Regions from separate parts of the Homo sapiens genome. Here regions 1, 2 and 3 are each linked to region 4. Evidence: promoter capture Hi-C in 16 types of primary human blood cells and fetal thymus (Javierre and others, 2016). All regions are on one chromosome and are shown on one strand. The core of a region is centred on a gene start or on the middle of the fragment in contact, and the rest is flanking DNA. Distances in the headings are between cores, read along the strand shown. Region 1 has its middle 5.3 kb from the start of SPZ1. Region 2 overlaps LOC105379048 (a long non-coding RNA gene). Region 3 overlaps SERINC5 (serine incorporator 5). Region 4 holds the start of THBS4-AS1 (THBS4 antisense RNA 1).

Region 1 (3,454 bases), core at 163-2,662, 240 kb after region 4:
TCAACTTGAATGAGAAAAGACAATTAACAGATACCAACAATGGGACAACACAGACAATAGAGTTATCTGACAAGGATTTTAAAGCAGTCATTATAAAAATGCTTCAGGCCAGGCGCGGTGGCTCACGCCTGTAATGCTAGCACTTTGGGAGCCCGAGGCGGGTGGATCACCTGAGGTCGGGAGTTTGAGACCAGCCTGACCAACATGGAGAACCCCCGTCTCTACTAAAAATACAAAATTAGCTGGGTGTCATGGCACATGCCTGTAATCCCAGTTACTCGGGAGACTGAGGCAGGAGAATTGCTTGAACCCAGGAGGCAGAGGTTGCAGTGAGCCAAGATCATGCCATTGCACTCCAGCCTGGCCAACAAGAGTGAAACTCCATCTCAAAAAAAAAAAAAAAAATGTGTCCATGAACAGTTACAAACATGAAACAAATGAAAAAATAGAAAGTATCAGCAAATAAATATAAAAGAGACATAAGTGGAAATTATGGAACTGAAAAATATAAATGATATAACCTCACCGAATGTGCTCAATAACAAAATATAGATGTCAAAGAAAAGATTCTATGAACTTGAAGATAGAACCACAGAGATGACCCAGAGAAAGTTGACAGAGAGACTGGGTGCAGTGGCTCACACCTGTAATCCCAGCACTTTGGGAGGCCGAGGCAGGTGGATCACTTGAGGTCAGGAGTTTGAGACCAGCCTGGGCAATATAGTGAGACCCCCATCTCTACAAAAATTAGCCAGGCATAGTGGGGCACACCTGTAGTCTCAGCTACTCAGGAGACTAAGGTGGGAGGATTGCTTGAACCCAGGAGTTTGAGACCAGCCTGGGCAACATAGGGAGACCCCATCTCTACAAAAACTACAAAAATTAGCCAGGCATGACAGCACACGCTTGTAGTGTCAGCTACTTGGGAGGCTGAGATAGAAAGATTGCTTGAGCCTGGGAGGTTGAGGCTGCAATGAGCCATGATCATGCCACTGCACTCCAGCCTAGGGGACCGAGTGAGCCCTGTCTCAATCAATCAGTCAATCAATCAAAAAGTTGGAGTGAGAACCCAGGATCCTCTCCATCTTGCCTTCCAGGGGTAAAGGGTTTTTTTTTTTTCCTCTTTTGTTTTTTTGAGATGGAGTTTCGCTCTTGTTGCCCAGGCTGGAGTGCAATGGCACAATCTTGGCTCATCGCAACCTCTTCCTCCCAGGTTCAAGTGATTCTCCTGCCTCAGCCTCCCAAGTAGCTGGGATTACAGGTGCCCACCACCATGCCCAACTAATTTTGTATTTTTAGTAGAGACGGGGTTTCTCCATGTTGGTCAGGCTGGTCTTGAACTCCTGACCTCAGGTGATCCGCCCGCCTTGGCCTCCCAAAATGCTAGGATTACAGGTGTGAGCCACCGTGCCCCTCCTTTTTTCTCTCTTCTTTTAGAAGGGGAGGAGGACAGCTGTCTTTCTCTTTTATATAAATGCTCAGTTTCATTTTCTCAGAATTCCTCACTTACAGTACAGACCTCATTACATAGAGGATGACATCTGGTTCTTATTGCATCCCCCCAGGGATAAGAACTAGGACAAGGGAATCCAGCACAGTAATTATCATAATAATCTGTCTCTGGTGCAAAAACTTCATGTATGCATTCAGGGCAACATAAAGATGAATATTAACAACCCAGCAAAGACAATCACAATCTCCACCACAGGTTCTATTATACATGTAGCAGGGGGCACAAGAGATTTTCATATGTTGGAAGTACCAAAATGACAACCTGAAATACTGCTCCCTACTCCTAAACCAACATTGCTTTCTATGTTTGGAATATGTATCACTTTATTCAAAAGCTAAAAGCCAACACTTTCTTGTTACAGCCCTTAGTGAAATAAAAAGAGATTGCCACACTTAAATAATATTGGGGGTCCTTAAAAAAATTACACACTTCTTTCCACCTGTCTTTCCTTCAAATGGAGATACCCTCCACACTATTCTCCAAGCACCTTGATTAATAAAGAATTGTGTAGTTCACTTGGCCAGGCACGGTGGCTCATGCCTGTAATCTCAGCACTTTGGGAGGCCAAGGCAGGTGGATCACCCGAGGGCAGGAGTTCAAGACCAGCCTGGCCAACATGGCAAAACCCCGTCTGTACTGAAAATACAAAAATTAGCTGGGTGTGGTGGTATGCACCTATAGATCCAGCTACTTGGGAGGCTGAGGCAGGAGAATCGCTTGAACCTGGGAGGCAGAAGTTGCAGTGAGCCGAGATCGCGCCACTGCCCTCCAGCCTGGAAGACAGAGTGAGACTCCATTTCAAAAAAAAAAAAATAGAAAGAAATCTTTCCTTATATCATGAATAAAAGCCTTCCAAAGTCCTTTTAATTTCTTGTCTTTCGCATTTATTTCTTTAATTTATCTTGAATTGATCCAGAAAAAATTCATCATAGTATTTAGGTTGATTGTCTATAAGTTGTACAATGGGTGTTTTCAAGTCCTTTTTGCTTGTCTATGCTTTGAGCCCTTTCTAACCTTTCCAATAAGAAAGTATGAGGCACTTTATATATATATAAAGTAAGGGTGAAATAATGGAAGAAGCATTTCACAAACAGGGAGATAATCTAAGTCTCAACTTGTTTCAGTCTGAGTTGCTTCATTTAAAAGGTGGTGACAATAATTTTCTTTTGGACCATGGACAAATGGTTCAAAGATTCTCTGGCTCCCTCAGCTGAGGTCTTATTGCTCTCTGGGAAGTAGGAATAGATTAAATGGGAGAATTAGAAACTAATCAGAAGCAAGCCTGGCTAAAAAGGAAGGGAACAATAGCAAAAACCCCAGGCACACAGGATATCTGGAAGTTGGGGTCATTGGTATGTTGCAAGTAAAAAGAAAGATAAGTATTACATTAAAAAGACAGCTATCCTAGATTAGTGTGAGGCAGAGGAGTGGATTTATCATCATTATCACATCAATATTATTATTTTTATAAAGTTATTCTACAAACTTGATTGATATAGAAAATCATTTAAATTTTTCTTACCTTAATAAAGGCCTCAGGCAGATCATCATTGGAGTGTCACAGCCAGTTGAGTGTTTTTCTTTTCTAGCAATCACACAGTCTTCCAGCGGAAACCACTGACCACTAATCCATATTTAATTAAATTTTCTCTCACAGGGAAGCATACATTGCTTTGGTTTGCACTGGTCTGTTAGGAAGCCTCAGTTTATGAGGAATTAGATACTGATATGTACATTTTGCTTTGATTTTAAATATTAAATGGTTTTTCTTATTTAAAAGAAAGTACTGTTCAATGGTCCTCAGATTTTTCTAGGGAAAGACCTTATTTTGTTTATTTGTCTCTTCTCCCTTTTTCTTGATGTATCCTATTAATCTTTAACAAAACCCAGATTTTGGCTTCGTTAATCTTCATTATTTTTAGTATTTCATTTCAATGATTT
Region 2 (3,245 bases), core at 315-2,814, 160 kb before region 4:
AACTGAATATAATTTAAATATGCATCAACTGCTTAATGGTGTATAAACAAAATATGGTATATCCATTCAGTGCAATAGTATTAATTTTTTTAAAAATAACATACTGATACTGGCTATTACATGGATGGAACCTTGAAAACTTCATGGCACATGAAAGAAGTCAGACACAAAAGCAATATGTTATATGATTCTATTGACATGAAAAACCCAGAAGAGGCAAATCTATAGAGACAGAAAGTAGATTAATGGTTTCCAGGGATTAGGCTGAGGAATGGGGAGTGACTGCTGAAGGGTACAGGTTTCTTTCTGCAGAGAAATAAATGTTCTGGAATTAGGTACTGGTAATAGTTGCACAACTTTGTAAATATACTAAAAAAAGCCACTGAATTGTACACTTAAAAAATAAAAATGTTGGGAAATTTTTAAAAAACCATTTTTTTTTAATTGCACAGATACTTTATATCTTTTTAAAAACCCAGAAAATATACCATACAAAGAAGTTAATGATCAATTATGCTACCACTCCGAGATATGGGCTGTTAATATTTTGTCTTATATCCTTCCATATTTTTTAAATTTCTTTTTCTCTTATGAAAAATAATAAGTACACAGAGAAATATCAAATATTTCTAAGCCACTGTTCAATTGTCATCTCGAACTTCCCTCTGTTGTTATCCTTGCCATTCCCTTTGCCATTTTCATGGCTGTATTCTCTGTGTTCTTGATTTCACATCTTCTCTCTTGCTTTAATCTCTTGTTTGGAGGGTAGGAGGGAATGGGTGACAGTCTGAGCAACAGGCCTGTCTCAGGTCACACTAATGTATTTTGGGCTGGTGGCCCTCAGCCTCTAGTGCCCAGTGGATGTCCTGGGATCTTGCTTTACCATCATCCTGGAGAGCCCCTTGTTTCTCTCCTGTGTTGGATTTCCAGTTTCCTTTATACCAAGTCTTCCTCTGTCTGAGTTTAATCCTTTATTTTGGTGTAACAATCCTCCTCTAGAGTCCTGAAAAAAAGATGCATGGAAGGTAAATTTTTTGAGGCCTTGCATGTTTCAAAATGTGTCTATTCTGTGCTTATACTGAATGCTAGTAAGGAAAGATTGGAAATGCTGGCTCAGGGTGGTAAAGGTGCTGCTTATTACTGTCTGGCTTCTAGTGCTGGCATATGATGCACTGTCCAATCTGGAAAATCATGTGCTTCAGGCTGGGAACTTTCCCTGAATCATTTCATTGGCAATTTTCTCCCCTCCCCTCTGTTTTCTCAGTTTCTTTTTTTTTTCTTTTTGGAATTTCTATTCTTTTGCTTTTGGATCTCCTAGACTAATCCTTTAAATTTTCTCCTTTTTTGTGTGTGTATTTCTGCTGGGGTTCTACTTTATCTTCCATCCCTTCTAATGACTTTTCTTCTTCATTTTGCTATCACCTTTTTAATTTCCAGGAGCTCTTTGGTTCTCTGAATGTTCCTTTGCCAGGAGTGAGGGTGGGGTTGGACACATATAATGTCCTGTTCTAATTTTACGAATGCAGTATCTTCTCTTAGCTCTCTGATGACATTCCTGGAAATTGTTTGTTTTTTAAGTATTCAAATTACTTATCAGATACAATGTCCACTATTTGGGTAATGGGTACACTAGAAGCCCAGTCCCCACCAGTATGCAATATACTTGTGTTACAAACAAGCACATGCACCCCCTGAATCTAAAATAAAATAAAAAGTATTCTCCCCATTTTTTGAGTTGCTTTTTCTCTTTTTGTTTGTTTGCATCTATATCTTCCAAATTAAGGACTTTCCTTAGAAGTCTAGTATTCTTCAATTGACTGCTTATGATTTAGAGTTGAGGACTGACATGGTTTGGATGTGTGTCCCCTCCAAATCTCATGTTGTAATGCAATCCTCATTGTTGGAATCACTGGTGGGAAGTGATTGGATCACAGGGGTGGATTCCTCATGGATGGCTTAGTGCCATCTCACTGGTGATGAGTGGGTTCTTGCTCTGAGTTCACACAAGATCTGGTTGTTTAAATGAGTCTGGGACCTCTCCCTTCTCTCTCGTCCTGCTGCTCTCACAAGGTGACATGCTGGCTCCCCTTCATCTTCCACCATGATTACAAGTTTCCCAAAGCCCTCACTAGAATCAGATGCCAGCTCTATGCTTCATGTACATCCTTCAGAACCATGAGTCAATAAACCTCTTTTCTTTATAAATTGCTCAGTCTTAGGTATTTCTTTATAGCAACGCAAAAACAGACTAACACAAAAACTGAAAGTCTGCTTGGGAGCTCTGAGTATGTAGTTTGAACTTGAGAAACCTACACTTTACTGTAGGGTGATGTGAGTAACCCATTTGTTGGGGAAGACCTACCTTAGGTCTTTCCTTTGGACTGGCAAAATGAGCCAGAGAGTTTTCTATCTCCTTCCAAGATGGTAAAGGTCTGAGTGTCATCATTCTGGCACTGAGTGAGGGAAGGGCTGGGAGTTTCTACATTCAGCACTGAGAAAATATACAGTCACTTAATTCCCTATTTCAGGTACTCACTGTGCCTGTCAATCCATTAACACCCCCAGTTCCAGAAGAGTCTGGTACTGCTTGTTCCTGTGACTTTCGGTTGAATTCTGAGCGTATACCAGCTCTGGTTTAAGATTATTCTTTCCTAGGTTTAAGAAGGAAGAGTTATTATGACAGAAAAGCTGAGAGCAAGAATCAAATATTAGCTTTGACATTTCAAAAATATAAACCCTAAAGGACCCAGGACATAAAGTTTATGACACTATGCAGGAAAAAGTATCTAAAACTTAGAAATAAGGCAAATCTAATGGCTGCATGCCATTTCTAAATAGTCTGTGAAGGGTCATCTGATTCACTCAGGGAAAGTGCTTTTGACCATGGTCTACACATGTCTTCATCCTGAAAAGTCAGAGATGAACTTGTAGAAAAATGATAAGGTGTGGTGATTTTTGAGGGAGGAGAAGGCAGCTTGGTAGAGAAGATAACTCCAATGCCTGCATTTGTGCGTGTGGTTTTTTTTACTCTATAGAGCATTAACTTGTTTTGTATCTATTTAGCAATCTTATTTCTATATTCCTTTCCCCACTAGCCATGTAATCCCTGTTCCTCAAATTTTTTTCAAACTAGCTCTTATTTTGTTACTGGTTCCTTCATGAGCTTGTCATCTATATGTATGAGAATTATGTTTCTTAACAGTTTGAGAATTATGCTTTAACACCATGTCTTAATCCATTTTGTG
Region 3 (3,514 bases), core at 262-2,761, 140 kb after region 4:
GCATCATTCCCAACATAGAGACAAATGTGAAGCCTGAATAAGTTACCTTATTTTTGGAACTCATTCTCCTTCTTCCTGATAGCACCCTGCTGGATGAGTGCAATGAGCAGCAAAGCCTTGATGGTGCTGACAGAGGAGACCAGCAACACCCGAAAAGACAAAGACAGCAGCTTTGCTACTTCCATACTGCCTTAAAAGAGTAGGGTTATCCCATGCACCTGTGTAATATGCACTCACACATGCACACGAGTGTGTACGCAAGGGCAGAGAACAAAGCCCTAAAGACGGAACAAAGCCCCACAGCCCTAGTTCTATTTCTAAATGTCAAACTTTGCAGCACGTTCAACAATTTAAGGAGGCAGAGAATTATATCCTGTGCTTCCATCGAAACACCAAAATTAAAGATGTGAGTGTCTTTGGTAACCAAGGAGATCCTTCTACCCAGCACTCATTATAAGTAATAGTTACCTATCATTTCTTAAGTACTTCCTATGTATCAAGGTACTACTCTAAGGTGCTTTCAAGACCTTTCATTTAATCTCCCCAAAGGAAAAAAAAAAACCACCCCCCTGCCTTTTGTTTGAGACAGTGTCTCACTCTGTCCCCCCAGGTTGGAGTGCGGTAGCACGATCTCAGCTCACTGCAACCTCCAACTCCCACTTCAAGCGATTCTCGTGCCTCAGACTCCCAAGTAGCTGGAGTACAGGTGCACACTATGATGCCTGGCTAATTTTTTGTATTTTTTAGTAGAGACGGGGTTTTGCCATGTTACAGGCATGAGCCACTGCATCCGGCCAAAAATAACCCTTTGATAGAAGTATCACAATCTCCATTTGACAGATGAGGAAATCTGAGTCTCAGAGGTTAACCGACTTTCCAGAAGCCACTTTGGGATAAACCAAAATCCTGATCTCTGATTCCAGAGCCCAACAGGATTCCAAAACCAGTTTTCCTTCACCAGATCTCAGGATATCTGGAATATACTGTTTTGACCCCTCCTCCACCTACTCCCCTATAGAAACATAAAATCAAGAGAGACCCTAAAACAGGTGCATGCACCTACAGCAGTCAGAAGAGCCCACTGGATGCTGCCCCTTGTGAGGGCTAGTCCTGACCTTGAGATGTGCCATTCCCAATGCTTTCTGCGAGAACACAGCACAGCCTTGGGCATCCCACCACCGTTCCGAAAGCCATTCTTCATTCTTCTTGTAATTTGTGGCAGTGATACTAATAATAATTTTTTTAAATAATAGGAAATTGCATTGTGCATTTTCTAGGTGCCAGGTAGGGTCCTCAGTTCTTAGCATGGATTTACTTCATCCTCACAATAATCCCATGAAGTAAATACTCATATTGCCATTTTTCACAAGTAAGAGGATTATAATTTAAATTTTTGGCATAATATGCCCTACTTTTTTTGAGATGGAGTCTGGCTCTGTTGCCCAGAGCTGGAGTGCAGTGGCATGATCTCAGTTCACTGCAACCTCCACCTCCCGGGTTCAAACAATTCTCCTGTCTCAGCATCCTGAGTAGCTGGGATTATAGGTGCCCCCCACCACGCCCGGCTAATTTTTGTATTTTTTGTAGGGACAAGGTTTCACCATGTTGGCCAGGCTGGTCTTGAACTCCTGACCTAAGGTGATCCACCCACCTCAGCCTCCCAAAGTGCTGGGATTACAGGCATGAGCCACTGCGCCTGGCCTATGCCCTACTTTTATAATCAGAAAAAATTTTATAAGCTATACTGACTGAAAAATGAGGAAAAGACAAAATAAGTAGAGAAAACATAAAGGAAGAAAAGAGAGAAAAAGGAAAAACGAATTCCATTTTTTTCACAAATGAGAAAACTGAGGTCTCTCCTAAGGTCGAGATAGGAACTCAGTCAGCCAGGCCCTAAACTCTTTCCTGTGCTGCTATGGTGCCGTCTCTAGAGCAGAGCTGTCTCTAGAGAGTCACAGCACACCTCATAATAAAACTGTGTTTACAGCCGGGAGCAGCGGCTCACACCTCTAATCCTAGCTCTTTGGGAGACCCAGGCGGGTGGATCACTTGAAGCCAGGAGTTTGAGACCAGCCTGGACAACATGGTGAAACCCCGTCTCTACTAAAAATACAAAAAAAAAAAAAGAATCGCATGTGTAGATGTTTATTTTTAAATTGACTACCTGATTTTTGCAGTCAATCATTTGAAAGTTAAAAATTCAAAAACTAGCCAGGGTGGGGGCGAACACCTGCGGTCCCAGCTACTCAGGAGGCTGAGGCATGAGAATCGCTTGAACCCGGAAAGCAGAGGTTGCAGTGAGCCAAGATAGTGCCACTGCACTCCAACCTGGACGACAGAGTGAGACCCTGACTTACAAAAAAGAAAAAACCTGTGTTTACACAAGGTAAGAAGGTTTAAAAGTTTCTAGCAATTATTCTGGACTTTGGTTAAAAGTACAGACACTTGGCCTGCATGGTGGCTCACATCTGTAATCCCAGCACTTTGAGAGGCCAAGGTGGGTGGATCACTTGAGCCCAAGAATTCGAGACCAGCCTGGGCAACATGGCAAAACCCCATCTCTACAAATAATATGAAAAAAAAAAAAAATTAGCCAGGCATGGTAGCATGCACCTGTAGTCTCAGCTGCCCAGGAGACTGAGATGGGAGGATCACCAGAGCCTGTGAGGTCAAGAAGGCTACAGTGAGCTATGATTTCGGCACTACACTCCAGCCTGGGCAGCAGAGTGAGTGAGGGAGGGAGGGAGGGAGGGAAAGGAGGGAGGGAAGGAAAGGAGGGAGGGAGGGAGGGAGGGAAAGGAGGGAGGGAGGGAGGGGGAGAGGAGGAAGGAAGGAAGGAAAGAAAAAATGTATAGACACTCAGCATAAAACAGAGTGAAAACTGAGTTTGGCACTTGTAGTATGTATAAAATTTGAATCACAATCCAAATCTTTCATCATTGCCTTTCTCTTTCAACTATTAAGAATTTTTTTTTTGTTTAAGAAAGGGTCTCATTCTGTTGCCCACACTGGAGCGCAGTGGTCCAACCATAGCTCTTTGGAGCCTTGAACTCCTTGCCTCAAATGATCCTCCTGCCTCAGCCTCGCAAGTACTTAGGACTACAGGCACATGCCACCATGCCCTGCTAGTTTTTTTATTTTATTTTTTGTTTGCTATACTCCCCAGGCTGGTCTTAAACTCCCAGCCTCAATCCCAAAGCACTAGGATTACAGACATGAACCACCATGCCCAGCCAGGACAAAAATTTTAAGTTGCCTAAATTCTCATTCACTATCATTCTGCACAAAATGTCCTTGTCTAAAATTTCCCACATAATTCATGGTTTTTTCTTGTTGATAGCATTAGAATACCTCACACTCTAATATAAATAAAAAGATCATTCCAAACTCTTCAAAGTTAACTATGACAAGAAACAAGAACAAAAGAAAAAGGTGGAAAACAAAAACTATACTTAGGCTTACAACAAATTTAGTGATAAATTCAGAGAATTTCTTTTTTCTCAAAATACCACCA
Region 4 (3,189 bases), core at 286-2,785:
CATGTTAGGCCTTGTGAGAGACAGAAGTTGGGAAGAAACACCCCCCACCCCCCTCCACACACACACGGACACACACGGTCCCTGCCCTCAAGGACTTCCAGTCTAGTAAGTAAGTGGCAACAGCTACAGTACAATCCAGGTCAGCGAAAAATGGAGCCTAAAACAGAGCAAAGAAAGACGCAGGTACGTATAAGAAGTGGGGCCCCTGGGCCTCACAGTGGGCACTTTACCCCGGGTTGGATTTCATGGAGGCCCCTCCGGCCGTGTTGTCCGCAGGGTACGATTTTATGAAGGCTCTGAGTTGGTGGCTGACTCTGGCGTCACCATAGACACCACAATGCGTGGAGGCCGACTTGGCGTTTTCTGCTTCTCTCAAGAAAACATCATCTGGTCCAACCTCAAGTATCGCTGCAATGGTAATGTGCATTCTCGTTACTGTTCAACATTGTTACTAGAATTAGTCAAACACTGCCACCTTATTTTTATACCGCACTTCCCCCCCAAAAGCCCAACGCTCATACCACATAGTCATTAAAACCTGATAGTCCCTGTGTACCAGAAGTAAAAAGCAGATCACATTTATCCTATTTTATCCATGTGGAAATTAAGACCCATAGAATTTAACTGCATGGTTTAGGGTTTGGGGTTCAGTGAGAAATCCAGTCAGATTTAATTTACAGGAAGCCTTTATTTTCATGTGGTTAAAACATAATCACAGATGCAAAATCCATTCTGCCTGCTGATTTTCTGCACGGCCGGGAAGGAGCACTCCTGGGCTTTAAGCCAACGGTTTGCAAAGCAGCCTGCAGGAGAAAATGGCGGCGAGGGCCTGCGGGGCGTCCTGGGCGGGCTAACAGCGCCCCCTACAGGACGCCTGAGCCGCGGGCGGGGGTCCGGGGTCCGGGGTGGAAGGAGCCTCGCTAACCTCCCTGTGCCCATTCCTATTGCAGACACCATCCCTGAGGACTTCCAAGAGTTTCAAACCCAGAATTTCGACCGCTTCGATAATTAAACCAAGGAAGCAATCTGTAACTGCTTTTCGGAACACTAAAACCATATATATTTTAACTTCAATTTTCTTTAGCTTTTACCAACCCAAATATATCAAAACGTTTTATGTGAATGTGGCAATAAAGGAGAAGAGATCATTTTTAAAAACCGTGTTGCTCAGACATTGCTCTCACGTGGCTCAGGCTTTGAGGTGCCCGTTCTCGGAGGGATCCCTGTTAACTTGCAGGGTGGTAGTTTCTTCTCAGACCCGGTGGCCGATAAGATGAGCCTATGCGTGAATCACAAGGCCCAGGCCAGAGGTCTCAGCTGGGGTCCCCCCAGTTTGCTCCATACAAAACGCCTAACCGTTCCATGCTCACCTTGGCAGCCTCCTTATTTCGGGTAAGGGGTCTCAGAAACACGTGTTTGGGGTGGCACCTTCCCTAGGGAGGCGTTTTTCTGACCTAGTCCTGGGACAGATTTGCCCAATTCTTTCTGATGCTGTCATCCCATCCCACACCTTCCACAGACTTCTATTCTGGCCCCTTCAACGTAATTCTTAAGCTTATTTATATATTTGGCTCCCCCTAGTGGACTGTAAGCATATTGACAATAAAGGATCATGTCATTACAATCAATATCCCCACAGTACCTGGAATGTAGTAAATAGCCAGTAAATGTTTACTGAATTAATAAACGAAGAATGAATGAATGAATGCCTCTTAAAGGACAGTAGAGTGTACATGATCATAAAAGTCCTCCTCAACTCAAAAAGTCACAACATATCCTCTATTTGTGGTACCAGTAGCTGGATGTACAGCACAGAAACTTGCCTAATTTGTACACTAGCCTTTCTTGTATTTCAATTGTAAATCAAGATCCAAGCAAATTTTTATAAATTCTCTAGAAATTTTGTTTCAAAGAATATTGCTGTGCGGTTATATATTTTCTTATTCCAGAATTCCTAGAGATATATTAAATCATGTATGAAGAAAAAAACACCACAGTTTTATCATGACTTTAACAGTGAGAAAATACAATGGTGCATGCATGAGATCTGGAGGATTTCTGGACATCCTCCTCTCATGTACAGCCTGGAGATGTGTGTGGCCTTGTAATCCAGGACATCTGATCTCCTACATCAAAAACTCCAATGGGGCCAGGTGTGGTGGCACTTGCCTGTGGTCCCAAGCACTTTGGGAGGCCAAGGCAGGCAGATCACTTGAGGCCAGGAGTTCAAGACCAGCCTGGCCAACGTGGCGAAACCCATCTCTACTAAAAATACAAAAATTAGCCAGGTGTGGTGCCACTTGCCTATAGTCCCAGCTATTTGGGAGGTTGAAGTGGGAGAATCACTTGAGCTGGGGAGGCAGAGGCTGCAGTGAGCAGAGATTGCACCACTGTACTCCAGCCTGGGCAATGAGAGTGAGGCTGGTGAAAGGAGGCAGCAACCCACACCATGCCCACCCCTGGGGCAGCCTCCCTGTTGTCGGCTGTGCAAGCCCAAGAACGCAGTATGTCCACAGGAAACAGACTCTCTTGGTTAAATCTTTTGTGTCTATAACTATTTTAGAAACCATGGGCCCACAGGAGATCCAGAACATAATTCCATCCCTTAGGGAGCTTATTACATTTTTGGGAAGACAAAACTTGTTATTTATGCAAAACAAGAAACAAAGACGCATGTAGAACCAGCAGTGTGCTGAAGCCAACTCCTACCAGCTCATAAGAGCCAACTATTCAAGTTTTAGGAATATTGTGAGCCAGTTAAACGGTTGGTAGTTTGAAATTGGCCATGGTGGGAGTATTTACACAGAAACTGGCAAACACTACAAATCAGGGCTCCAGAGAACTGGTTGTTAAATATTTATCAGCACACAAGTGATTATTCTACCTTGTCCTATTCCTAGTTGGCCCTCCTTATATTTTTGAAGCTGATGTAGAAAACTTGAGGCTTTCAGAAAATTTCTTGCATAAGAAATGAAGTAAGAAAAGTGAAAATGGGTGGGGTGCTATGGCTCACACCTGTAATCCTAGCACTTTGGGAGGCCTAGGTGGGAGGATCGCTTGAGGTCAGGAGTTTGGGACCAGTCTGGCCAACATGGTAAAACCCCATCTCTACTAAAAATACAAAAATTAGGCCAGGTGCAGTGGCTCCTGCCTATACTCCCAGCTCCTCAGGTGGCTGAAGCACAAGAA

The links. Contacts are between HindIII fragments. The CHiCAGO score rates a contact against its expected background, and 5 or more counts as called.
Region 1: a contact is called between a fragment that was not itself captured here and the fragment with the promoter of THBS4-AS1 in region 4, in 9 of 17 cell types (neutrophils, non-activated CD4 T cells, naive CD4 T cells and 6 more). The highest score is 12.0, in neutrophils.
Region 2: a contact is called between a fragment that was not itself captured here and the fragment with the promoter of THBS4-AS1 in region 4, in 1 of 17 cell types (naive CD4 T cells). The highest score is 5.0, in naive CD4 T cells.
Region 3: a fragment that was not itself captured here is called in contact with the fragment with the promoter of THBS4-AS1 in region 4 in 1 of 17 cell types (neutrophils); the score reaches 5.4 in neutrophils.

The regions. Positions count from the first base shown.
Region 1 is chr5:80,323,531-80,326,984 of GRCh38, forward strand. No RefSeq gene overlaps it. Among named protein-coding and RNA genes, the nearest start is that of SPZ1, 5.3 kb to the left of the region's middle. The HindIII fragment of the contact is 7,032 bases long and covers 1-3,454 here.
Region 2 is chr5:79,920,281-79,923,525 of GRCh38, forward strand. All of the region lies in intron 2 of LOC105379048 (a long non-coding RNA gene), which reads left to right. Among named protein-coding and RNA genes, the nearest start is that of LINC01455, 15 kb to the right of the region's middle. The HindIII fragment of the contact is 7,775 bases long and covers 1-3,245 here.
Region 3 is chr5:80,225,494-80,229,007 of GRCh38, forward strand. All of the region lies in intron 1 of SERINC5 (serine incorporator 5), which reads right to left. Among named protein-coding and RNA genes, the nearest start is that of SERINC5, 29 kb to the right of the region's middle. The HindIII fragment of the contact is 9,320 bases long and covers 1-3,514 here.
Region 4 is chr5:80,082,130-80,085,318 of GRCh38, forward strand. It overlaps THBS4-AS1 (THBS4 antisense RNA 1), which reads right to left and starts at 1,536. Exons shown (of 8, transcript NR_109930.1): 1 at 1,371-1,536; 2 at 231-408. It overlaps THBS4 (thrombospondin 4), which reads left to right. Exons shown (of 22, transcript NM_003248.6): 21 at 277-416; 22 at 951-1,158. The coding sequence ends at 1,012. RefSeq lists silencers at 845-934, 2,050-2,264. The HindIII fragment of the contact is 5,954 bases long and covers 1-1,552 here.